7 separate regions of the Homo sapiens genome follow, and all the other regions are linked to region 4. The links are contacts of gene promoters, found by promoter capture Hi-C in human tissues and cell types (Jung and others, 2019). All regions are on one chromosome and are shown on one strand. Each heading gives the region's core, a stretch centred on a gene start or on the middle of the fragment in contact. The rest is flanking DNA. Distances are from core to core; before and after follow the strand shown. Region 1 overlaps CHST11 (carbohydrate sulfotransferase 11). Region 2 overlaps CHST11 (carbohydrate sulfotransferase 11). Region 3 overlaps CHST11 (carbohydrate sulfotransferase 11). Region 4 holds the start of ALDH1L2 (aldehyde dehydrogenase 1 family member L2). Region 5 overlaps CHST11 (carbohydrate sulfotransferase 11). Region 6 overlaps CHST11 (carbohydrate sulfotransferase 11). Region 7 overlaps CHST11 (carbohydrate sulfotransferase 11).

The links. Contacts are between HindIII fragments. The study calls those that stand out against the background at their distance.
Region 1: a fragment that was not itself captured here is called in contact with the fragment with the promoter of ALDH1L2 in region 4 in 1 of the 25 tissues and cell types used here (mesenchymal stem cells).
Region 2: a fragment that was not itself captured here is called in contact with the fragment with the promoter of ALDH1L2 in region 4 in 1 of the 25 tissues and cell types used here (lymphoblastoid cells).
Region 3: a fragment that was not itself captured here is called in contact with the fragment with the promoter of ALDH1L2 in region 4 in 1 of the 25 tissues and cell types used here (lymphoblastoid cells).
Region 5: a fragment that was not itself captured here is called in contact with the fragment with the promoter of ALDH1L2 in region 4 in 1 of the 25 tissues and cell types used here (lymphoblastoid cells).
Region 6: a fragment that was not itself captured here is called in contact with the fragment with the promoter of ALDH1L2 in region 4 in 1 of the 25 tissues and cell types used here (lymphoblastoid cells).
Region 7: a contact is called between a fragment that was not itself captured here and the fragment with the promoter of ALDH1L2 in region 4, in 1 of the 25 tissues and cell types used here (lymphoblastoid cells).

The regions. Positions count from the first base shown.
Region 1 is chr12:104,639,379-104,643,032 of GRCh38, reverse strand. All of the region lies in intron 2 of CHST11 (carbohydrate sulfotransferase 11), which reads right to left. Among named protein-coding and RNA genes, the nearest start is that of MIR3922, 50 kb to the right of the region's middle. The HindIII fragment of the contact is 7,114 bases long and covers 1-3,654 here.
Region 2 is chr12:104,669,886-104,673,543 of GRCh38, reverse strand. All of the region lies in intron 2 of CHST11 (carbohydrate sulfotransferase 11), which reads right to left. Among named protein-coding and RNA genes, the nearest start is that of MIR3922, 80 kb to the right of the region's middle. RefSeq lists an enhancer at 1,529-2,133. The HindIII fragment of the contact is 7,265 bases long and covers 1-3,658 here.
Region 3 is chr12:104,732,406-104,735,669 of GRCh38, reverse strand. The region is part of intron 2 of CHST11 (carbohydrate sulfotransferase 11); the gene reads right to left. Among named protein-coding and RNA genes, the nearest start is that of MIR3922, 140 kb to the right of the region's middle. The HindIII fragment of the contact is 7,646 bases long and covers 1-3,264 here.
Region 4 is chr12:105,083,141-105,086,550 of GRCh38, reverse strand. It overlaps ALDH1L2 (aldehyde dehydrogenase 1 family member L2), which reads left to right and starts at 2,093. Exons shown (of 23, transcript NM_001034173.4): 1 at 2,093-2,162. The coding sequence starts at 2,115. RefSeq lists a silencer at 1,786-2,215 and enhancers at 2,716-2,955, 2,450-3,250. The HindIII fragment of the contact is 4,053 bases long and covers 1-3,410 here.
Region 5 is chr12:104,621,153-104,624,422 of GRCh38, reverse strand. The region is part of intron 2 of CHST11 (carbohydrate sulfotransferase 11); the gene reads right to left. Among named protein-coding and RNA genes, the nearest start is that of MIR3922, 31 kb to the right of the region's middle. RefSeq lists an enhancer at 1-670. The HindIII fragment of the contact is 4,525 bases long and covers 1-3,270 here.
Region 6 is chr12:104,692,961-104,696,526 of GRCh38, reverse strand. The region is part of intron 2 of CHST11 (carbohydrate sulfotransferase 11); the gene reads right to left. Among named protein-coding and RNA genes, the nearest start is that of MIR3922, 100 kb to the right of the region's middle. RefSeq lists an enhancer at 666-805. The HindIII fragment of the contact is 5,274 bases long and covers 1-3,566 here.
Region 7 is chr12:104,748,763-104,752,365 of GRCh38, reverse strand. All of the region lies in intron 2 of CHST11 (carbohydrate sulfotransferase 11), which reads right to left. Among named protein-coding and RNA genes, the nearest start is that of MIR3922, 160 kb to the right of the region's middle. RefSeq lists enhancers at 688-737, 727-1,304. The HindIII fragment of the contact is 6,008 bases long and covers 1-3,603 here.

The sequences.
Region 1 (3,654 bases), core at 700-3,199, 440 kb after region 4:
GCTTTTTGAGAAGTAAATGAAATGTACAAAACCTGCATGTAGTGGGCATCTAATTGGTATGACAATGTGTTCCTTAAAATACTTTTGAAAGTAATTAGTAGTTGAAAATAAACCTTAGTATTTAAGCAACCTCTACTTGACTACATATCTAGTTGCATAATTTCTTAATTTTAAAAAGTATTCTTGTTTTAATTATAAAAGTAATAAATGTTCATTGTAAAAAAAAAAATCTAAATCCCCAAAATAATTTTAAAAGTTAAAAACCACCTATATTCCAACCACCTAGACACAGGCTTGAGATTTTGTTATGTGTCTTCTCAGAGATACATAACAGGCTGGGTGTAGTGGCTCATAGCTGTAATACTAACACTTGTGAACGCTGAGGCAGGAGGATCGCTTGGGCCCAGGAGTTCTAGGCCAGCCTGGGCAACATGGTGAAATCCCATCTCTACAAAAATACAAAAATTAGCCAGGCATGGTGGCACACGCCTGTAGTCCCAGCTACTGAGGAGGCTGAAGTGGGAGGACTGCTTGAGCCTGGGAGGATGAAGCTGCAGTAAGCCACGATTGCGCCACTGCACTCCAGCCTGGGCGACACAGCAAGACCTTGTCTCAAAATTTAAAAAAATCAAATTAATTTGTAAAAAGTAAAAAAAGAAATGCGCATAGGTACTCTGTCTTTACAATGATACAATTCTTCTATGCATGTCGCTTTGTAATTTTTTTCATGTATGTCTCATGAGCATTTTTTTTCATATTAGAGATCATACTCCCATACTGCCATTCTAAAGGCTGCACAGGATCCCATAGTATGGATATACCATCCTTTAATTACTGCCACATGATATTTTGATCATTTCTAATTTCTCACTACTGTGAACAATACTGAGATGAGTACTATGTACCTACCCAGTTCCTCATTTGGGCTTCTCAGAAGTGTCACTAATGACGTACAGGATCAGATGACTCTGTTGTAAGGATTGTCCTGTGCACCATAGGACGTTCAGCAGCATCCCTGGCCTCAACCCACTAGAGGACAGTAGCAGCTCCCCAGCTCTGACAATCAAAACTATCTTCGGATGTTGCCAAATGTCCTCCCTGGGGTGGATGGGGTGCAAAATCCCCCCTGGTTGAGAACCATGGCTTTAGGATAAACTCCTAGAAGTGCCAGATCAAGGTGATTACAGACTTTTTATTTTCTTATCCATTGCTAAATTGCCCCCAGAAGGTTGAGTGCCCCCGTCAGCACTGGGGAACAGCCATCCTCCTTCTCATGTTTGCTGGTAGGAAGGTGGGTAGGGTCCACCCAGTTTTGTTTTTAATTAAATTAATAGATTCTCTTTTTTGAGCAGTTTTAGGTTGACAGAAAAATTGAGTGGAAAGTATATAGAGCTTCCATATACATACACTCATACCTTAACCCCCAGTTTCCCATTATTAATGAAGCAGGATACTTCCCTGACCCCTTTGCAGGCAGGAACTGGAGTACATGGGTGCTGGCAGGGGCAAATTCCACTCACTCACTGTTCCACCCCTCAGAGGAGGGGGAACACAGGTGAATGGGTGCAGGAGGTGGGGGTGAACGCTTTTGGGTGCCAGCAAGAGCGAACTCTGTACTGACCCTGTGGCAGCATCTAGGGGAGGGTGTCCATGACCCCTGAAGCCCCGGAAGAAGTGTTACAGTGCCCTTTTAGCTTTGCCATCCATGGACAGATTAAGTGTTAACAGCTCAGTGGATGGTCCATGTGACAGACACCCTTTTGCATTCACATTTGTGGCACCTGAGTTCTTGTCTGGCATCCAGGAGGAATGAGGTCACACAAATGACTTGAAGATGGCCAATGTGGGGGATTTTATTGCCAGTGAAAGTGGCTTTCAGCAGGAAGGGGAGCTAAAAAGGGGAAGGAGTGGGAAGGTAATTTTCCCCTGGAGTCCAGTGGTCCCCGATTGGACTCATCTCTAAAGCTATGCCATCAAGCTGTCCCTCTGAAGTCAAGCTGCTTCTGACATCCAACTGTAGTCTCCAATGTCCAGCTGCTTCTCCCCTCTCTGTTGGCTGAGCCTGGGGTATTTATGGGCACAGGATGGGGGTCGGGGCAGGCAACATTTGAGCGGGAAAACAGGGATGTAAGGTCTCACTTTGGGCTACAGTATTAGGCTTTTCAGCTTGAGGGTAGGGACCTCGCTGGGGACCAACCCTCTTCTGCCCAGAATTTCCCTGCCTCCTGTCCCTATCATTAATATCTTGCATTGGTGTGGTACATATGTTGTGACTGATGAGCCACTGTCAATGCATTCTTATTAATTGAAGTCCATAGTTTACATTAGACTTCATTCTTTGTGTAATGTCATGTATCCACCATTAAAGCATTGCATAGAGTAGTTTTCTGTCCTAAAAATCCCTTGTGCTCTTCCTGTTCATCCCTCTCCCCACCTCCTGAAACCCTGGCAACCACTGATCTTTTTACTGCCCCCATAGTCATTTACTGCTGTTTACAGACATTTGCCAACTTTTACAGAATGTCATATAGTTGGAATCATACAGAACGTAGCCTTTTCAGATTGACTTCTTTCACTTAGTAATATGCACTTCAGGTTCCTCCATATCTTTTTGTGGCTGGATGGCATATTTCTGATTGCTGAATAATATTCTGTTGTATGGATGCATCATAGTGTGTTTATCCCTTCACCTGTATAAGGGTATCATGGTAGCTTCCAAGTTTTGGCAATTATGAATAAAGCTGCCATAAACATTTGTGTGCAGATTTTTGTGGATACATAAGTTTTTAGCTCATTTGAGTAAATACTAAGGAGTGCAACTGCTGGATCACATGATAAGAGGATGTTTAGTTTCATAAGAAACTGCCAAACTGTCTTCCAAAAGGGCTGTATCATTTTGCATTTCCACCCGCAGTGAATGAGATTTCTGTTACTCCATGTCTTCACCAGCATTTGGTGTTGCTGGTGTTTTGGATTTTAGACATTCTAATAGGTATTAAGTGTTATTTCATTTTTGTTTTAATTTGTAATTCCCTAACGACATATGATGTAGAGCATCCTTTCTTATGCTTACTTGCCATCTGTAGATCTCCTTTGGCGACATCTGTTTGTATCTTTCACCCATTTTTAACTGGGCTGTTTGTTCTCTTATTGTTGAATTTAAGAGTTCTCTGTATATTTGGTATATGAGTCTTTTTTTAGGTATGTGTTTTGCAAACACAAGCTGGTTGAGACCACCGACCTCCAACTGGGCCTGCACAAAGGCATGAGAGGTGACCTTTTGACATCAGAGGGCCAAACACTACTCCCTCAGATCATGTTAATGCCACCATTTTCTGAACTCTTATTCCGTGAAGGGCAATGAAGCTTGACCACGTATGCATGGATTGCCAATTACCTCATGTTCTCTTACCCACAATCGCCTTTCCCCATGCCTCAGGCCACCTTGCTCCTCTATCCCATAAAGATCCCTAAAATCCCATCTTTGGGAAGGCAGATTTGAGACCTGTTCTCCTACCTCCTAGCTTGGCTGCCTCATGAAAAAATTACTTCTCTTTAGGAAAATCCATCATCACAGTGATTGGCTTACTGTGTGTAGGCAAACTAATGTGGTTGGGTATCAATTGTATGGATATACCATATTTTGTGTATCCA
Region 2 (3,658 bases), core at 490-2,989, 410 kb after region 4:
CATGAACTCATTTAATGCTCATAACAAACCTATGGGTAGGTACTATTATCATTCCCATTTTACAGGTGAAGAAACTGAGGCCCAAAGAGGGTAAGTTACTTGTCCAAGTCAAATAGCTAAAAATAGGTGTCACCACATGTGTATTTTTGAGAAAATGCTCTAGGCTCACCCTAGAAAGCCTCAAGTCAGTGTTAATCCATGTAACAAACCATTCCATTAACAGGTACAGTAGGCTGAATGGTACCTCCCCAAAAGATAGGTCCACATCCAAATTCCCAGAATCTGGGAATGTGACCTTCTCTGGATAAACGGTCTTTGCAGATGTGATTAAGCTAAGGATCTTGAGATTATCCTGGAGTGTGTGGGTAGGCCCTAAATATTAATGACGTGTCTTTATAAGAGACAAAAAAGAAGACAGAAGAGGGGGCAGCAACGTGTACATGGAGCAGAGAGATGGGGCCCCAAGCCAAGGAGTTTGGCAACTGGGAGAGGCAAATAATAAATCTTCCCTTAGAGTCTCCAGAGGGAGTACAGCTTTGCTGACACCTTGATTTTGGACTTCTGGCCTCCAGAACTGGGAAAGAATACATTTCTGTTGTTTTAAGCCACCTGGTCTGTGGTGATTCATTATGGCAGCCTCAGAAATGGTGGGGCAGGTATGGCCAAGCATCAGGGTTTCAGAGTAATCCTCACGCCTGGGTGTCTGAGTGGTGGCAGCAGGAGAACAGAGGTGCCATGCGGGAGGCATGTGAAATCTGGGGGAGGCTCTTGGCTTGGAAAGTGTAGGAGGGAGAGTCACAGTCAGAATCACGAGCCAGTTTTCCAGCCAAGAAGGCTGCCCAGCAGAGCATACGCTTGTTGCCATGCACTGAGCTGCCCGTCATGGTGAGTAATCTTGCCCCATTGGGAGGTTACTCCTCCCGAGGTCCCTTTGGAGGTGGTGAAGCCAACCATCCTCACATGTTCTATTCCTGAAAGAGGCCAGGGCCAGGCCAGCTTCCAGCTCTCAGAAACACCTGCTCGTGGAATCAATGGCCACAAGGCATGGGATAGCTGATAAAGGGGTTTTCCTTCAAAGTTTTTCATTCTCTGCAGTATTTTGGCAGAATTTGCCAGAAAGCAGAAAGCAATGGTCTCTTTATTCTCCATTTCTGGAGCTATCTGCTCCTTTCGCCCCTCTCTGCAAAGACACTTGCCACAAGACAGCTGGACAGCCGGGCCCCTAATGGAGTCCTGCACACACATCACTCACACGAGCCATTACTCCGCAAGCCAGAGCTGACCTTGGGGAGAGAGGGACAATCCCCTCTCTCCCACACGGTCCACCCCCCTGTGCAGGCCAGACAGGTCTCAGGGAGGTAGGTTTCCAGAAAACGCGCTTCCCTGACATTCCTGGGCATTTTCATTGTCAGGGATGGAGAACTCGAGCTACCCAAATTGTATCAAAACATCTGAAGTCAGAGCAGAAATCTTAATGCTCCTTCCTCCAGGGCTGATCATTACAATATTCCTTAATGGGTAGGACATGGTCACTGACGGGTCAGAAGGAATGCTGCCTGGGAACTGTGCCAAGGCCTCCTGCCAAGTGCCAGTTTTGCCCCATCCCCCAACCACACCCCAGTTATGGAGAGGAAACTGATGAGTCACTGGCCGATTTGCTAACTTCAGTGTCCCAATGCCACACGCCTACAAGGTGACAAAGGGGGTTTCCATTTGGCTGTTGAAAGCCTCTTCTCACATTATGCAAGAAGAGGGCTGGGGGCGGGGAGGAGAGAGAGACAGAGAGAGAGAGAAAAAGAGAGAGAAAGATAGAGATTGGGTAAAATGTCTAAAATTCAAATCATAAGTTCAAGGGGGACTTTCTGTAAGTAAAGGAATCTTTGGTGAATAAAGTATCACCTCACTTTAAACAGTGGCTTTGCTCACACTGTAGGCGTTCTCTAGGCTGCCTGAGATAACTGTCCTGGCCCGTTTGCTGCGAAACCTGTGGGGGAAGCGACAGGACTTCCTAGACCGATCACAGTGCAGTGGGCTAAGAGCTTCCATGATCAAAACCATGATCGCGCTGGTAACAGTAATGATCAGTAGACAGGCATTCCAAGCACTTGATGTGGCTCTCCTCATCGAATATTCTTAACAACCCTAAGAATCAGGGCAAATACTGACCCCACTCTGCAAATGGGGAAATGAAGGCACAGCAAAACCAAATAACTTGCAGAGCCAAGATTTCAACCAAGCAGCCCTGCTCCAGGCTTTTCCCTACCACCCACACCCCATGCTTAGGATCACGGGCGCAGCAAGAAGCCGTGTCCAGTCAGACTGGAGATCACAAGAGGCTTTGCGGAGGAGGGTGTGCCCATGGCCAGCAGACTAGCTGTCAGCTAAAAGGAAAAGGTCATCTGCTCCCACCCCGTGTTAATGAGAAAAGCTAAAACTAGCCATTCTCTACCATCTCATCTCCAGTATTCCAATCTGGTGATTATGTTTTCAGCTCTGAACATGATCTTAGGGCTTCTCACCTGCCCAACACCCTCAGAAGGCAGGGCAGGAAATCCATATGTGGGAAATCAAAGAAACTGAAAAGGCAGAAGCAGAAACACAAAGCTGGAAAAGAGTGTGTGTGTGAGTGTGCATGTATGTGCATGTATGTATGTGTGTGTTTCTGTTGGTGTATATGTATAGGTGTGGGGGGTATGTGTGGGAGTGTGTGTGAGAATGTATGTGTGGGTGTGTGTTTATGTGGGGTGTGTGTGAGAGTGTATGTGTGGGTGTGTATTGGTTTGTGTATGTGAGGGGTATGTGTGGGAGTGTGTGTGTATATGTGGTGTGTATGTATGATGTGTGTGTATGCAGGGGTATGTGTGAGAGTATATTTGTGTGTGTGTGGGTATGTGTGGGAGAGTGTGCATGAGTGTGAGTGCGTGTGTATGGATGTGTTTGTGTGGGAGTGTGTGTATGAGTGTGAGTGCATGTGTGGGTGTGTATGTGTGGGAGTGTGTGTGTAAGTGTGAGTGCATGTGTGTATGGATGTGTTTGTGTGAGTGTGTATGAGTGTGAGTGTGTGTGTGTGTGGGTCTGAACATATGCACTTGCACATGTGTATATGCTCCATGAAGGAGGCTATGTTGGGGGTGGGTGGAGGAAATGGAGGCAGTTCATGGACGGTCTGGAATAGAAAAGCGGGGAAGGACCACCCTGCCCTGGGTGCCGTGCAGAGGCAGAGATTGCTGGTGGATTCAGAGTGGTGGGGAAGCCCCTTGGTTTTGAGGACTCGCTCTGCTACAGCCCTGTTAGCATCCTAAGGACTGAGGAAGTTGGGAGACCACAAGGCCTCTGTGGGCTGCTCTCACCAGAGTGCACCTGGCCAGGGTGGACCCCCCTTCCTCCCTCTCCCTGTGAGGCCAGCAGGCCCTGCAGCAGGCGGTGTGGAGTCCAGATTCTTCTGACTCTCTTGGCAAGCTTCCGCCTCTGTCCAGCTGTTGGCTTAGGTGAAGCTTTAGGAAAGCGAGAGGGGAAAAGGGAACTTAGATTTATTAAGGGCCTCCTCTAAACTAACATTTGTTGAGTTGAGCAATTTCTATGTGCTAAGCACAAGTATTTGATATGCATCAACTCAGTTCTCTTGCCACCTTTTGAGGGATTGGCTATTATTCCTGAC
Region 3 (3,264 bases), core at 257-2,756, 350 kb after region 4:
TGCGCTTTCTTGCACCTAAGGGACCTGCCCAGGAGCAAGTCCCCTGCCCCCAAGTCTCTCTGGATTTGCTCACTCTCTTCTTCCCGCTAACTGTGGGGCTTTCAGACCTCACCATATTCCTCACTTCCTCTAAGATGATGTCTCGGATGACCCAGCCCCACCACCAGGCTTGGATCAGTCAGGTATCCCCTTTTCCTGGTGCTCCGCCAGTGATCTAGGCTCATCTCTCTTATAGAACGTGGTATTATTATTTTTACCATTATTGCTGTTATCATTCACAGCACAGCCACCAGCACCACCAGAAGAGCTAATATATTTTGAGTGCCAGGTGCCAAGCATCGTCCTAAGCTCTTGTGTAATCACATTTAGTCCTTCTATCACTCCTACAAGGTAGAGACGTATTATATTTCCATTTTATAGATGAGGCAACTGAAACCCAGAGAGGTGGTCATTTAAGTCACAAAGCTAGCCGGTGGTGCAGCCAGGATTTGAACCCAGGTAACTGGACTCTGGAGCTTACTCTCTTCTCACAACATACTGTAACTGTCTGTTTACCCATAGATCCCTACCTCTGCTCCCTGAAGTTCAGGACTGTTGCCTTGCTCATCCTGGAATCCCCTGTGTTGAGCACCATGCCTGCCCCCAGAGCAGGAGCTCAAAAAATGTTTGCAGAACAGAAGCAAACCTGGCAATTTTGCAGTTTGCCCTGATGAGGGCATGTGGTGCCTGGCAGGGTTCACGTAAACAACACGATGATGATACAGAATCACTGTGTTATTTATCAGATAAACGCAGGCCCCACCCTTGTCTAAGCATCCCAAACCCTCCTCCTCTGGATCTCCATATTATCTGTCTTTTGTCTGTGTTCTCTTGCTGTTACTTTGCCATAAAGCTCCCAGGAGGCAGAGCGCCAGTTCTCACAAATCCTCCTCACCCTGGGGCACTTCCCTGAGTGCCTACCAGGAAAGGCTGTTGGTGGCTGACTGGGTATCCCATGGGGTGAAGGGTGGAATGAACTACAGGGCAATAACCCCAGGTCCTCATTCCTCCCCATGGCAAAGTAAGAAACATGGGACTGGAATATCACAGGCCACCCCGTTTTCCACCTGTGACCGTATTCAGAACTAGGGGCGGGAGAAACAGCAGGCATTTGGGTCCGGATCTTAAGGTCCAGCCCTGCCCTTGTTAGCAGCACAGCCTTGGGCAAGCTGACCTCTCTGAGCCCCAGTTTCTGCAACTATACAACGGGCCCGGGGTGAGATTTAAATGAATGACATTCATCTTGTGCCTACACAGGGCCCGGAACTGCTGGTCCTTCAGGAGGGATCGTGCCCCTGTGATCCTGAGGCCAACCATCTTTCTGATGAATTTTGGGGCTGAATTTTCCTCAAGCAGCTCTGTACCTCCAACTATTTCAAGATAGTTGGATTTAAAATTTTTAAATAAGAAAAATAAACAGAAAAGCACGTCCACTTCTGCAGAGAAGCATGGGCTGGGCCTGAGCAAACACCTCCCTGTGCCCCTCTGGCGCCAGTGCTGACCAGGTACCTCTCAATAAGCAGCTCTGCTGGCGGAAGCTGGCCCTCCTGGCAGGGGAAGCCCTGCTGCCTTCTTTGGAGGAGCAGTGCCCAGCCAAAAGCTACAGAGATTGCTGGTGGTGGCGGGGAGGAGGCATAAGCCCACATTCCTGGGCAGCCCCCACAGGCACACACTTTTGCCAGGGCTGGGCCATGGGGGCATGGCAGCCATCATGGCATCATCAGAAGGCTCAAAGCGCCCCCCGCTGGCTTTTCAAAGAAACCAGACCCATCACCCAACTCCTCCTACCTTACAACGTCAAAAGCAGGGTTCCCCTCCTCAGAGGCAGTATAGATAAGATCAGTGCAGCCAACCAATCTCCCTGGGTTGAATCTGGTTCTGCCACCTACTTAATGATGTGTGATCTTAGGCAAGTTACTTCACCTCTCTGTGCCTTAACTTCCTTATCTATAAGGTAGGGATAGTATTAGGTTGGCGCAAAAGTAATTGCAGTTTTACCATTACTTTTGATGACAAGAACTACAATTACTTTTGCACCCACCTAATGGAAGTACCAACCTCACAGAATATGCAAAGCATTCAGAAGACTGCCTGAAACACAGTGTGTGTCAAAGTGTTGGCTGCGACTCCCAACAACTGATCCTGGTTCAAGGGTTCCATCATGCAGCCCTGGGAGGGAGGGTTGAACACGGGGGAACTTGCTGGGTTTAAAGGTGCCCCCAGAATCAGGCAAGGCCCTTTCCTGATACCCACAGTCAGTGTTACTGCCTCCCACAAAGGCCTTATAAATGTCCCCTTTCCTCTTTCTTCCATGCCATGGGGAAATCTTGGATCTACTCTGAGGTCTTTTCCCTGTGGGATCTGGAAAGCTAGACTCCAGATTTTGCATCTAGCAAAAACAGTCTGGCCTCATGCCCTCCACAGCTACATTCAAGATATGTCTTATCTACATCATCTTCCAGTTAAAGAACCCGGTGGCAGAACAGCATTGTGGGAAGAGGACACACCCTGGAGACAAGGTGCATGGGTGGAATCCCAGTGCGTGACCTTGCACACATCACCTCACTGGTCTGGGCCTCAGTTTCCCCATCTCTCATAGGGCTGGTCATACCTACTACACAAGGGTGTGGAGCAAAGATTAAGTGAGACGATGCATGTCAAGTTCAAAGCACAGGGCTGACGCCCTCTTTGTGAACTACATGTAAGGAAATAAGTGCTTAAAAAAAATACTTAATACTTAGTTCCAGAAAGAAAGCTTCCAATTCCGATGTCACTGCAAAATCAGTCCCCATTTGTTTTGCCATCTGGTCTCATCAGTGATTAGGAAGCTGGGGAGGAGGATGCCAAAAAGAATCTGGAGACTGGGGGTATCAATAGATGATGTGAGCACCTGGGTGTGGCAAATGCCCCGGTGACAGCAACACCAATCGGATACCTGACTGAGCTCAGGTTTGGATATGGACACTTGGACAGGAGGGACATTTGGTGGCTAAGCCCCAAAAGGTGTTTTATTACCTAGTGCTGTGCATGACAGGCACTCCCGCCTGTTACTTCACCCTTAGACCCTTAGAGGGTGGGTTGGGGAAGGGAGAAGAGACGTGAGGAGACTCAGAGATAGGGCAAGAAGGTCTATTTCTAATGTGATGAAAGGTGAATTTTTAAAAAGTAAGTAAAATCCATTGATTTAGTTTTCAGGCCATCTATAAATGTCCCTGGGGTCAAAAC
Region 4 (3,410 bases), core at 844-3,343:
AAAAAAAAAAAAAAACCCCTCCTTATGCACCCTTCTAGTATACACAGATCAGAATAAATAAAGGGAATATCAATATTTGGAAGTTTAAAAAAGCAAGAAGTCACAAAATGCAGTCAGGAAAGTGGGTTGAATTGGCAAGATGTAGGGCTCAAAGCAAAACCTTGGATGTTTGTTGCAATTCTCCAAGTTTTTTTTTTTTTGAAACAGAGTCTCCCTCTGTCGCCCAGGCTGGAGTGCAGGGGCGCGATCTCGGCTCACTGAAAGCTCTGCCTCCTGGGTTGACGCCATTCTCCTGCCTCAGCCTCCCAAGTAGCTGGGACTACAGGCGCCCGCCACACGCCCGGCTAATTTTTTGTATTTTTAGTAGAGACAGGGTTTCACCGTGTTAGCTAGGATGGTCTCGATCTCCTGACCTCGTGATCCGCCCACCTCGGCCTCCCAAAGTGCTGGGATTACAGGCGTGAGCCACCGCGCCCAACCGCAATTCTCCAAGTTTTAATGATGGTTCTTTTTTGTCTCCTTACTCTCTTAAACACATTCATCCGTTTCAACAAGTTTTTTTTTAACAAGTTATTTTTTATTTTATTATTATTTTTTTAAAGCTCTGGTTAGTGCTAGATACTGTAAATCCTGATTAATCAGACATGGACTTAGCTTGCAAGGAGCTTCCAACAGAGACGTTAATAGGTATACAAATACCAGTAGCAGATTGAGACAGCCATAACAGATGCATAGACAAAGATTATTTCCTGTTAAGAGGAGTGAACAATTATTTATGGGGAATAAGGAGACTAAGAGAGAAAAGAATCAGAAAAAAGCGCCTCCAGGAGGCAGCATGTAAGCGGTACCTTTCAGAAAAGAAACGGTCGTGCCAAGATAATTACAAGTGACAGATGACAAGCTTTTCTGGGAAACATTGTCCAAGAAGGAATAGGCAAGAACTGCAGTCAAGCAGAATTACATATGCAAAAGAGCAGTGAGAAATAAGAGAAAATGGCAAATTGCAGACGGCCCTGAATGCTGGGCTAAGAAGTCTGGCTTGAGATAAACGTCCAGCTAAAGCAGGTCTGAGCGTTTTTTCCAGAGAGGTGAGGGAGAAGGGCACGTATCTATTAGGTTGATGCAAAAGTAATTGCGGGTTTGCCATTATTTTCAGTGGCAAAAACCACAATTACTTTTGCACCAATTTATTTATTTATTTTTAAGACAGAGTCTCGCTCTGTTGTCCAGGCTGAAGTGCAGTGGCATGATCTCAGCTCCACTGCAACCTCCGCCTCCCCGGCTCAAGTGATCCTCGTGCTTCAGCCTCCCGAGTAGCTGGGACTGCAGGCATGCGACATCACGCCCGGCTAATTATTTTATTATTTTATTATTTTTTATTTTTAGTAGAGACGGGGTTTCACCATGGTGGCCAGGCTGGTCTCGAACTCCTGAGCTCAGGCCATCTTCCCTCCTCGGCCTCCCAAAGTGCTGGGATTACAGGCGGGAGCCACCGCGCCCGGCCTACCGTCCTACGAGGTAGGCATCAGGATCCCTCCACAGCGAAGGCGCCCCCACTACCTATCTGTCTACAGGCGTGCCTTTTACGGGCTGTGCTATGGACAGCACTTGGGATGTCAGATTGACCACTAATAAGGTAGATCCGTATACACTGCTGCGGGGCTGAGTAACTGGTAGAGGGTCCCACAGTTAGAAAGCACCTGGACCTTGGCTGGAATTGGCGGAAAGTCCAGGCAGCGGAGAGGCGCGGTCCCTGGGACTGGGTGCGCTCTTGGCACCAGGGTCAGGGCCCACAGGCTCCAGGAAGCCCACGCGCTCCGCCGGGTCGCACCAGGTTGGCTGTCCGAACGCAGCCAGCTGGCGGGGCGGGGCCTTCCAGCTGGGGGCGGGGTCTTGACAGCTAGGGGGCGGGGCCTTGCAGCTGGTAGGGTGGGGCGGGCCGCGGGCTGTGGGCTTTGGGAGGGGTGCGGACTAGCAGAGGCCGAGAGCGGCGAGCCGCGAGCCAGGCAGTCCGGGGCATCCAGACTGCAGGCCGCGCCCAGGCCGCGCCCAGGCTGCGCCGCCCGCCTGCCTCCCGCGCTGCCGCGTCGCCAGTGCTAGCGCTCCTCTCCAGCATGCTGCGGCGGGGCAGCCAGGCGCTCCGGCGCTTCTCCACTGGCCGGGTGAGTCCGGCCCGGGCGAGCGTCCCGGCTGTCACCCTGTCCTGGTTTCCAGACTCCGGGGCGGGAGGGCCGGGGCGGTGGGGCTGGGGATGAGCAGCGATGCTTAGACTTTGCTAAACACCAAGACAGCGTTTAAAACAAACAAACAAACAAACAAAAACAGAGAGACCTCAGAGGAGGGCTTGGGGAGGGTCCCGGATGGGAACTGGCACGCAGGCCATTGTCTTCTGCCGGGAGGGGGCTGAGGATGCAGTTTTTGGACGTGTCAAGTCTGGCTGGGATGGCAAGGTGGGAACAGTCACTTGGTAAGGAGGACAGAGTCTGCTTCCTTTCCTTTTTCACTTCAATCATGAGATCCCTGGTCAAGAGCTGGAGCCATATGGAACCGAGACTGTCTCCTGGAGGAGGGGAGTATCAAGTCAATAGGGTCCTCGTTGGCGGCCTGGGAGGTGTAAGCGCTCGAGACTGGCACGCAGGGCCGGTTCAGATAATGGCACTCAAAGCTGATGGCTGCAAGCTCAGTATTCCTGAGCTGAGCTGCAGATGGCAAAATTTCTAGAATTGCCAGGCGCTGCAGAGGCAGCCACGCTGGAACACTATTCTACTGTAGCACAAGAACCGAGCTCTGGCCCAGCCCCGCGCCTTGGAATTGCATCAGCTCCTCCAGAAATGGAACCGAGAGAGGACACGTTGCACTGCGGTGCTGCCTTCAGCACCCAGGGGGCCTCGGGACTGTTTAGGGAAGAGAGAGAGAGAAAAAAAAAAAATAAAAACTGTCTTATGTATCGTATCTTTTATAGGAAGTACATAAAAGAATTTGCTTATCGATTCTTTTTCTCGGCCATGCCAAAGCCATATGTACATATGTATATATTCAGATGTAAAAAACTTGGAGGCAGAGAGAAGTCTTGAGTAGCACCAAAAACTGGCCCAAACTTGCATCAAAGGAAAAGCTTTCTGTATCCCAGACAACCCCAAATAATAAGAATTCGTTTTACTCTTTGCAACCAGTTCTAGTTACTTTGAGGTATAGTCACCTTTTATAAAACGAGGGGTGGGGGTGGGGAAGACCTGCTCTGCTAGGACTTTGGCCTGCTCTCCTGGACCCCTCATTAGCTTCCCCCACCACGTGGCACATGGGATCCCAGATGGATAGCACAGAAAGCAACGGGCTGTGCCCAATGCCTGAGCCTGTTTTGTTGGCCTCCTCTGTCAACACCTTTCACTGACTTGTCTTTTTTGGTGACC
Region 5 (3,270 bases), core at 345-2,844, 460 kb after region 4:
AAGTCCTATTAAGGGTACCAAATGCACTGCCCACATGGCCCGTATGCAATCCTGAGACCACACATTCAGTCTTAAGTACCCAGGGTGTCCACTCCTTCCATCCCTGTCTTCCTTGCTGTGACAATCATTTAATACCCATTGTTTCAAACCGTCTCCCTTCTTTTTCTTCTCCTGCCGATTATGCACCAACCCCTTTTCAGACCTCAAAATTGAGGTTTGCACATAATTGCTCTGACAATTCCCCTAGGATCAGAGGCCGGAATGGAGTGCATCTTAATGAGCTGCATAATTGCTCCTTGAAATGCTTTTCTTCAGCAGCCATTCTCTGAGATTCCGCTCAGCAATTCATTTTCCACATACCTTCCCTCCATCAAGGCTGCAGGCTTCACTCCCCCAGCCTGAGACACTGAGAACGAGTGCTGTGTTTCTCAGGAGCCCCCATTCATCATGGTCATTCTGTTCATTTGCCATTTTCAGAATGAAGATCAACTCAGACTACACAAGGCTTCGTGGCTAGAGAAACATCACATGACAGCAACGGGAAGCTTTCAGAGGCTGGTGTGTTTCTCATACCCCAAAACAAGTTGAAAGTGATTGAAATTAAATAACCCTTTCCTGATTTCATAATGCAACTGCAGACAGCAGAGACGGTGAGATAGAGCCCAGTATTTTACACCAAGGGCACATGAACTTTTTTTTTTTTTGAGATGGAGTCTCACTCTGTCACCCAGGCGATCTCGGCTGGGTGACAGTGGCGCGATCTCGGCTCACCGCAACCTCTGCCTCCCAGGTTCAAGCGATTCTCCTGCCTCAGCCTCCCGAGTAGCTGGGATTATAGGCATGTGCCACCATGCCTGGCTAATTTTGTATTTTTAGTAGAGACGGGGTTTCTCCATGTTGGTCAGGCTAGTCTCGAACTCCCAGCCTCAGGTGATCCACCTGCCTCGGCCTCCCAAAGTGCTGGGATTACAGGCGTGAGCCACTTCGTCCAGCCCACATGCACTTTTATCTACCACGGGTGGCCTGGACCTCGACCGTACATCAGCAATAAAACACTAATAACCAAATCAGGCACGGTACTTTACAGTTTACAAACAGCTTCCATTGTCTCACCAGCTCTTGAGGGAGGCATTATTATTCCCATTTTTAGAGGCTAAGGGCCTGACTCTGGGGAGCCTTCCTGACTTGCTCAAGAACACCCTTGCAGTGTGGTGAGGCTGGGACTTGAACTCAAGACCTCTGGCTCTCGGCACAGTCTAAAGCAGGGAACCCCTGTGGATGAAATCTGGCCACGCCCATTCATTTACATATTGTCTTGGCTGCTTTCATTCACAAGGGCAAAGCTGAGTAGTTGCAACAGAGACCTAAAATGTTTGCTGTCTGGCCCTTTACAGAAAACGTCTGCTGACCTCTGGTCTAGAGATTAATGCACCAACTTAGTTGAGCACTTTAGACTGCTTCAGCAGGGTGAGATGGCTTTGGGGGTGCTTTGGCTCTTAATGCATGGACAATCATGAACTGAACACTGGACTGGGAGTTAATTGACCCTTGGCTATTGCTCTGGCTGCTGCTGCTAATACGCAATTACACACTTTTACCATGTGCTTGGCATGGGTCTCAGCCGTTTATTGCATTATCTTCATTTAGTCTTCACAACAAACCTGTGAGGTAGGTACATTATCCTTACATTGGGAGATGAGGAAACTGAGGCACAGTGAGGTTAAGTAACTTGCCCAAAGTCACCCAGCTAGTGCCTGGCAGGGGTGTCTGCTCTGAACCGGCATGCTCTTTGCCCTCTCTAGGCTCGACGTTCAGGTTTAGCCTTACCTGACATTTATTAAGAGCTTACTTGGCTGGGGAGAGTTATTTAATACTCTGATCTTCCTTCTCTTTGCACTGTCTAAAATGGGAAGATAATATCTCCCCTGCCAACCTTGAGAGAATTGTGAGTTTCAATGAAGCTAGTCTCTATGCGGGTACTTTGAGAATACTGTAAGAATTATATAATCATTTCATGAAGGAAAATCTTGACAAATATAACACCATTAATTCCAAATATTTACTCCGTCCTTTTAAAAAAAATAAATGTACTGACTAAACAGTGGTAGTACCTCCTACCTATAGGAACCCATCCACAAAACTGTGATCTGATATAAATTTCACGTTGAATGTGTGGTTGTCAAAGAGTTCTTATGAATATGTACAAGGATTTTGGTTATCCACAAAACTGTGATCTGATATAAATTTCAGGTTGAATGTGTGGTTGTCAAAGAGTTCTTATGAATATGTACAAGGATTTTGGTTGTATCAACTCAGCCTATTCCCTGCCGGTATGTAAGCCATGATGTGCCTGTGGGGGTCACCGGGGTTGCCGGCTTATACCTAGATTTGCCAGGCATTTTCACAGTACCTCACTTGATCCTCAAAACAATTCTGAAAAAGGCAGTATCACCACAACCATCAGCATCCCATTTTCCAGACTCACCACGCTGCTGCCGGACTGCTTACCTGATGTCACAGACCTGGCCTCTCCCAGGCCTCCTTTGGACCCTGGTCTTGGGAGAGGGAAGCTTAGCTCCAACTAAAAAGGGGTGTGTGCATGTTAGTTTTCTATTGCCGCTGTAACAAATCACTACAAACAACTGCTTCCATTCTGAAGGTCACAAGTCCTAAAGTCAAGGGGTTAGCAGGCTTGCGTTCCTTCTGGAGGCTCCAAGGGAAAATCTGTTCTGTGCCTTTTCCATCTTTTACAGGTCACTTACATTCCTAGGCTTGTGGCCCCCTTCCTCACATCACTCCAAGCTCTGCTTCCATCCTCACAACATCTCTTTTCCTGGCTTTGACACTCCTGCCTCCCTTATCATCCTGATGATTATACTGGACCCATCCGGATAATCCAGGATAATCTCTCCATCTTAAAACCCTTAACTTAAACTGCCTTTGCAAAGTCCCTTTTGCCAAATAAGGTAACATATTCTTATTGCTTGGAAAAGGGGCAAGGCATTCTGCCTACCATAGCTTGGGAAGCCGTGACTGTAGGCCTTGGGTTTTGAATGGCCCTGGGCCAATGGCAAGGTCTAGGACAGCACCAGAGAAAGACAGGATGTCTGCAGCCCATCGCCTTGACTGGGTTTAACAGGCCGGGCCACACATGTTCATCTTTGAGGCTGGCTTGGCTTTTATTCTCCAAACAGATCCTTTGCCTAGGCCTTGATCAAGATGCCCCCACAAACTGGGGGCTGTGGTCTGTGAGACTCCCCAAGATCCCAC
Region 6 (3,566 bases), core at 906-3,405, 390 kb after region 4:
ACCACCACGCCCAGCTATGTTTTTTTTTTTTTTTTTTTTTTTTTGTATTTTTAGCAGAGTCGGGGTTTCACCATGTTGGCCAGGCTGGTCTTGAATTCCTGACCTCAAGTAATCCGCCCGCCTCAGCCTCCCAAAGTGCTGCGATTACAGGCGTGAGCCACCGTGCCTGACCCTGATGGTTTATTTCTATTATATAGGCAGATCTATAAAAGATCTGAAGCAAATATGCCACAATGTTACATTTGTGAATTCAGGATGGTGAGTAAAAAGTGTTTATTATATCATCTGCTGCACTTTATCTTCAAAAATTTCCCAAGTAGACAAAAGGAAAAAAGAAAAAAGGTAGGGTGGGTGGGAGCCAAACAGAAGGCTTGGAAACCATTTCTGTGCTCTTTGCACAGCAAAGGGAGCATGCAGATGGCGAGTTAACATACCTAGGAGGCTCCCCTGGGGTTTAATGTTGCATTGTGTACCCTCAGAACGACTGCTCAGCAAAGGCAAAATAAACACATTTCCTGTGCTTCCCTTTCTCAGCTCCGCAGCCCTGCCAAAGTGGGGGTGGGAGGGTCACATCATTTATTTACACAAGGTCCTCTTTATATGGACACCTCCAATAACGTTATTCATCGGGTTGGCTCCTCCAGGGCTGCCCCACTGTTCCCAGCAGGCCAGGAGTGTGACTTCACGGTGAAGCGTCACGTCCAAGTTACTCTGTACGTGGCAATGCCAGCTACCCACAAGAAAGGAGGGCTGTGAAGGGGGAGCTGGGGCCGCTTCTGGGTAATGGATTTCCCCCGCCCCCATTTCTGGCAAAGAGCTCTGTGGTCACAGAATTAAAAAAATCTATCAATTGTAAGCTAAGGCACATGCTGGGTGGAAGTGAGAGTGAGGGAACCTATTCTTATCACTAGCTCTGAGGTAAGATAGAAATGTCTGGAAGCTCCCCGCTTGCAGCTGGGAACTGTGCCTTAGTCATCTTTATGTTTCCATGGCTTTGCACAAAGTAGGTGCTCAGGAAATGCTTGTTCAATAAGCAAACCACAAGGACACATACACACACACACACACACACACACACACTCATTGTGTTGTGAATTGTGTTTTCATGAGTTTTCTTTCTCTTCACAGACAGTGTCATCTAATGGTTAAGGATGTTGATTCTGGAACCAAACTGCCTAATTCTAGGAACAGACACAAAACCTCTACCTCAGTGCCTTCAAACTATCAGGCCTTGGAGGGGGCTGAGCTGAGGCCCTCCCCACAATAGCTGGCACATAAGGAGCATTCGAGGAATGTTGGCAATTTCCAAATTTAGTCTCAGGGCAAGCCAGTTGGGAAGGCAACACCATGTCCATCTTACAGATGGGACAGCTGAGGCTCAAAGAAATCCTGTTGCTTGTGAAAGGCCACACGTGTTCCTGCCAAATGATGATGCCAGGATCTGAAGGCAGGGTGTCAAGCTTCGGAGAACCCCCCAGCATCCCCTGTGGCTCCATTTCTCAACAGCTGACTCAAGGACCAACAGATCTTTCTTGGCTGCTGTGTTTTCTACCCAGCAAAGGGTCCGGTGGGAACCCCCTCAGCCAAATGGGAGCCACTGACTTCTGTGGGGCCCAGAATCTGACTCAGGCCCAGGGAAATCTGATTCCCACGTCAAAGCTCAGGACTCGGAGCTGCACTGGTTCCGAACACAGAGCAGGCATAAAGTTCTGATGCCAGAAGAAGGCAGGAAACTCCAACGAGCTTTAATCACTCTCCCATCACGAACAGCTCTAGTGACAGCTTGGCCTTTCTATCCCAGGAGTTCAAAGAGTTTCCATCGTTCATTCTCACAAAGGCCCATGTCCCCTCTGCCTCGTTCCTGCTTCACTTTATTGAAGTAACTGTGACCCCAGATAGAATCCTGGCAGGTGACCCAGGTGAAGTCACCCGCTTCGTTAAACTCATTCCCTCCACTAATGCAGCGTCAAAACAGGGGGCTGTGCTCTTGACCACACCCAGGTTTTTTAAGAAAATGACCACAAAAACAAAACAAAACCAAAAAACACATTCAAAAAACATTTTTTTCAAAAGTGGCATCTTGGCCACCTTTGAACTCCGGGGCCTGGTGCAGCGCCCAGTGCAGGATAAGTGTTTGATGAATGCTGAGTAAGAGGAATGAGAAGGCAGCTAACAGCAGCCCTGAGAAGCAGTGCTATTACCCACATTCCACAGGATCAGGAAACAGATTCAGAGAGGTTAAGTGGCTTGGCTGGGGCTGGACTGCGGCTGGAGAGTGGAGGTAGGTTTGAATATGGGTTTTTGCTGGCTCTTGGGGGCTTTTAATGTAGGTACGTCCATGATACAAGCTACCCCCTGCCCCATGGTCTATACAATACCTGGCAAAGCTTTCTGATGAATAGATATGCCATAAAGCTGGGTAAGACCACAAACTTTGAGATAAATGTGCGGGCCAAATCCAGTTAGCTGCCTGTTTTAATATGGTCCTGGAGCTAAGAATAATTTTCATATTTTTACATGGTTTTGTTTTAAGTAACTATACAAGTTCCTATGTAATATCCTTGATATTGCCTCTTGGCCCACAGAATCTAAAATATTTACTATCTGACTTTTTAAGAAAAAGTGACAGATCCTTGATGTAAACTGTATCTCATTTTATATAAGCGGTCCCAGAGAGTAGGGGTGTGCCCGAGCCCAGAGGCCTAATCTCTAGATTGAGGCCTTGGTATCCATTCCATCTCAGCTCTCACCACTATGTACTTCACTTTGGCTAACTCCTACTTATCCATCAATCTCATCTTAGTTGTCGCCTCCTCCAGGAAGCCCTCCCTGACCCCCAGAGACCAAATCAGGGGCCCTTCTCTGTGCTCCCAACTTCTCATGGTCCCTTAAAACCCCCATGTCCTGACACTTGGCATGCTGCATTAGCATTGCCACTTTCTTGTCTCCCATCCAGTGGACTGTAGACTCCACAAGGGCAGGCACCATTCTGTCAGAGTTAAGAAGTTGTGTAATTTAAGTGACCACACATCCTGGTGTGCCTGAGACAGCCTCATCTTATGCCTGTTGACCCAGCACAAATATTAATGACGATCCTTCCCTCTCAAAGTGTCCCAATTTGGAGGATAAATTATATAGTACTGCTACCCTAGGTATGGCATAGTAGCTTAAGAGCATGGCCTCTGGGTTCCAATCTCAGCCCTCCATTTTTCAGTGGTGTCACACTGGGCGTGTTGCGCTGATCTGTGACCCCTTCAAATTTATATGTTGAAGTCTTAGCCCCCAGCACTTCAGAATGTAACTGTACTTGGAGATAAGATTTGGAAAGAGGTAATTAAGATACAATGAGTTCTTTGGGGGGCGGGGCCTGATCCAATCTGATTGATGTCCTTATAAGAAGAGGAAATTGAGACATAAGATATGTGTGTGTATGGAGGAAAAACCAAGTGAGGATGCAGCAAGACAGTCATCTGCAAGCCAAGGAGAGAAGCCTCAGGAGAAACCAACCTGCAGCCACCTTGATCTTGGACTTCCAGCCTCCAGGACAGTAAGACAATAAATTTCTG
Region 7 (3,603 bases), core at 251-2,750, 330 kb after region 4:
GTGTAATTAGTTAAGATGAGATGATACTGGATTAGGGTGGGCCCTGACCCAATGGGTGGTGTCCTTATAAGAAGAGAAAGCAGAGACACAGAGACACGCAGGGAGAATGCCACGTGAGGACAGAGTCGGAGACTGCAATGATGTGTCTCCAGGCCAAAAAATGCCAAGGACTGCCGGCCACCACCAGCAGCTGGGAAGAGGCAAGGAAGGATCCATTCCTCTGGAGCCTTCAGAGAGAGCATGCCCTGCCAACAGCTTGATTTCAGACTTCTGGCTTCCAGGACTGTGAGAGAATACATTTCCTTAGTTTTAAGCCACTCAGTTTGTGGTAATTTGTTATGATGGCCTCAGGAACCTAAAAGAGGAGGTCAATCATTCAAGTGATAACTTTGAGCAAGTTGGTACTAAACTATAAGTTTAAAGAGAAGATAACATCATATAAGAGGCTATTTTATATAGAAGAATAAGGACAGTGTATTAGGGTACTTGTAAAGTACAGTGAAGATAAGATTTGAAATAAGAAGGTCTGGGCTTGATCCTGGGCAAGAGCCTTACCCTTCTGAGTCTCAGTTCCTCTATTTGCAAAATGGGGATAGTACCACCTACCCCGCAGGGGTGGTGACTACAGCAAATAAGGTACATTTCAGCATTCAGTAAATAAGATCAACTCTAGTACAGGATTTGGACAAGGTATGGCACAAAACAGGTAGTTAATACGTAGGCATTCTTTTATCAAAGAAGAAAAAAGAAATCTGAAAAAGAACGCCTGGATAGGAATCTCAAAGACAAATTTCACCAGCTCTGTAATTTTGTTGCAGGTCAGCCCTAGGTCACTGGATTCAATTAATAATTATTTTGAATAGGAAAACTCTGACCTTTGCAATTCATGACTTCTTAGCCGATGTATTCATCACCCTAAGAGAAGCATTCATGGGCCTCTTGGGCTATTGAACAATGCCATTAAACAAAACCAAACCTGTGTTTAAAGGAAATGAAAGGACTAGGAAGGAAACAGGGCCCATCAATTCTGCCATTTGAATCACTAAGGACAATTCTGAAGGCAATAAGTTACTAAGATGAGCAGAGAAATAAGGGGATCTCCCCCTCATCACCCTCCCAACCTCTTTTGAGCTGGAGACAATTTTCTGGCCACCTGAATCCCCAGGGAGGTAGCATGCCAGTTAATACTGCATTCAGGACCACAAAGGCAGGAAAAATGGAAATGACACCAGCATATCATTTTACATTCAGTTGCAGAGGCGGAAAATAACTCAGTGGGGCTTTTAAACCTGGTATTTGAGGTTTCTTTCCCCTCCATTTCCTTCTTCTCCACAGCAGTTTAAGGGGCAAATGGTGCACCTGCCACAACAAGGCACACACAGTTTCCCCTCAGGAAGACTCTGGGGTAGGGGTCAAGAGAATGCTTCTCAAATCCAAGAGAGAAATTCACCTGGGCCTCTACTATTAATGTTTTTAAAAATACATTTTAATTGGTTTTTATAATTTTTTAATTTTAAAATAATTTCAGGTGACAGTAAGCACCTTGTCTCAAAAAATAAAAATATTTTCAGACTAGTGTTGATTTAAATTATTAAAAATAAAATGGTACTAAAATGTGCACAAGCCAGGCACGGTGGCTCACATCTGTAATCCCAACATTTAGGGAGGCTGAGGCGAGTGGATCACCTGAGGTCAGGAGTTCGAGACCAGCCTGGCCAACATGGTGAAACCCTGTCTCTACTAAAAATGCAAAAATTAGCCGGGCATGGTGGCAGACACCTGTACTCCCAGCTACTGGGGAGGCTGAGGCAGGGGAAAATCACTTGAACCCGGGAGGCAGAGGTTGCAGTGAGCCAAGATTGCACCATTGCACTCCGGCCTGGGTGACAGAGCGAGACTCAGTCTCAACAAAAAAAAAAAAAAAAAAAAAAAAAAAAGTGCAGAAATATAAAACCAGGTACACAACTACAAGTTCAAAACAAACATAAACATTCAAATGCACAACATTAACATGAGGGGTGATGTTTTACTGGAACTAAAGCCCTGCCTGAAACCACGCAGATGCTTGCTCACTGCTGTGGGTCAGGGTGTTTGGAGTAGAGCTTCCCTTTCTGTGCTGCATGAGGACTCGGTTTCCTTACCACTTCCTCATTCCTAGTTACTGTGAAACTCGGCACGCTGGAATCTCATTTGACCTTTACTTGGTAAAAGCTCATCATGTATATATTTTCCTTTTCTGCTCATTTCCAATTAGCCCAAGACAATAAAAATGGAGCTACACGGAACCACCAAGAACATCAATGAACACAGGCACCACGACTTCATATGGCAGAACTAGGTTATCCGGGGCAGACCTGATGATCCAGAAATGGATAATCATTTTTCAAAAGATTATCACCAAAATAAAAACACTCAATCAATAAAGTTCTTCTATGGAACTCTAGACTCCTGGGGGTTCTATCTGTGGACTTCTTGAACCTTGGTTTATGAAACCTGGAGTAAGGACAGCCCTGGACAGGCCAGACGGAAGAGAGGAATTCTTTGCCACCATGTCAAAATGGGGCAGGAGAGATTTCTGATGACAGCCTGGCTCCACCAGGGCTCAGAAGAGCTTTTGTAACTGTCATAACCCCTCAGCAACTAACACGTTCCCTGAGCACAGTTCCGGAACTACTGATGGGACCAACAGCTCTGGGGACATCAGGAAGACAAGAGAGTGAAGAAGACTCACTCATTAATGAAGAAAAACCCGTTCCCTCATAGTAAAAGAGAATGCCCAAATTTTCCAACCAAGTTTGATCAATTTTACAAAGAAAGGACTTGTTGATCTGACAATTATCTGAGCTGTGAGATCAATGTCTTTCTTCTTACATTCCCTTTCTCTCCCCTCTTCTTGTTTGCTTTCTCAAAAGGTTTTGAAGAGACCATAACAAAGGACATATGTGCAGTATGAAATAAAAATAGAAAAAAAATATTCTATGAGGGCTGGGATTTAGAATCTCAATTGGCTGTGGGCTTCCTAGCAGCAAGGACAAAAGGGGAAATATGATTAAATCTTCTTGCTCTAGTTATCAGAAAAGAGAAACATTCCAGTTGTTTGGAGAGGAACATGCACAAGATTTCAAAGGACTCGGAAAATTCAGTGCAGGAGGGAGATTCTTGGATTCAGTTTGCCTGTGTTGGGGTATTTGGAGGGTTGCTTTCTTCAGCTGACTGAATAATGCCACGATTCACTTCCACCTAAGGTCAACAGAAAGCTTCCTCATGTATGGAACACTTTCACACATACCACATCCCATTTAAGGAACCCGTTGGGACTCTTCCAGAGGCTGCAGAGCCTACTAAAAGAAAGTTTATATTTAGCCGACCAGTCCCTACTCCAACCATGCGTCATTCTCTCCTGGGCTGGCTACCCCTGAGTACTAATCATACTTCATGCCAGTGGTTCTCAAACTTGAGCCTACATGAACGTTATTACCTGGAGGGCTTGTGAGAACACAGCTTGCTGGGTTCTCCTCCCAGAATTTCTGACTCAGCAGGTCTGACAGGCCTGAGAACCTGCATTTCTAGCAAGCCCCCAAAGTGTTTGGGCCGCCATAATAA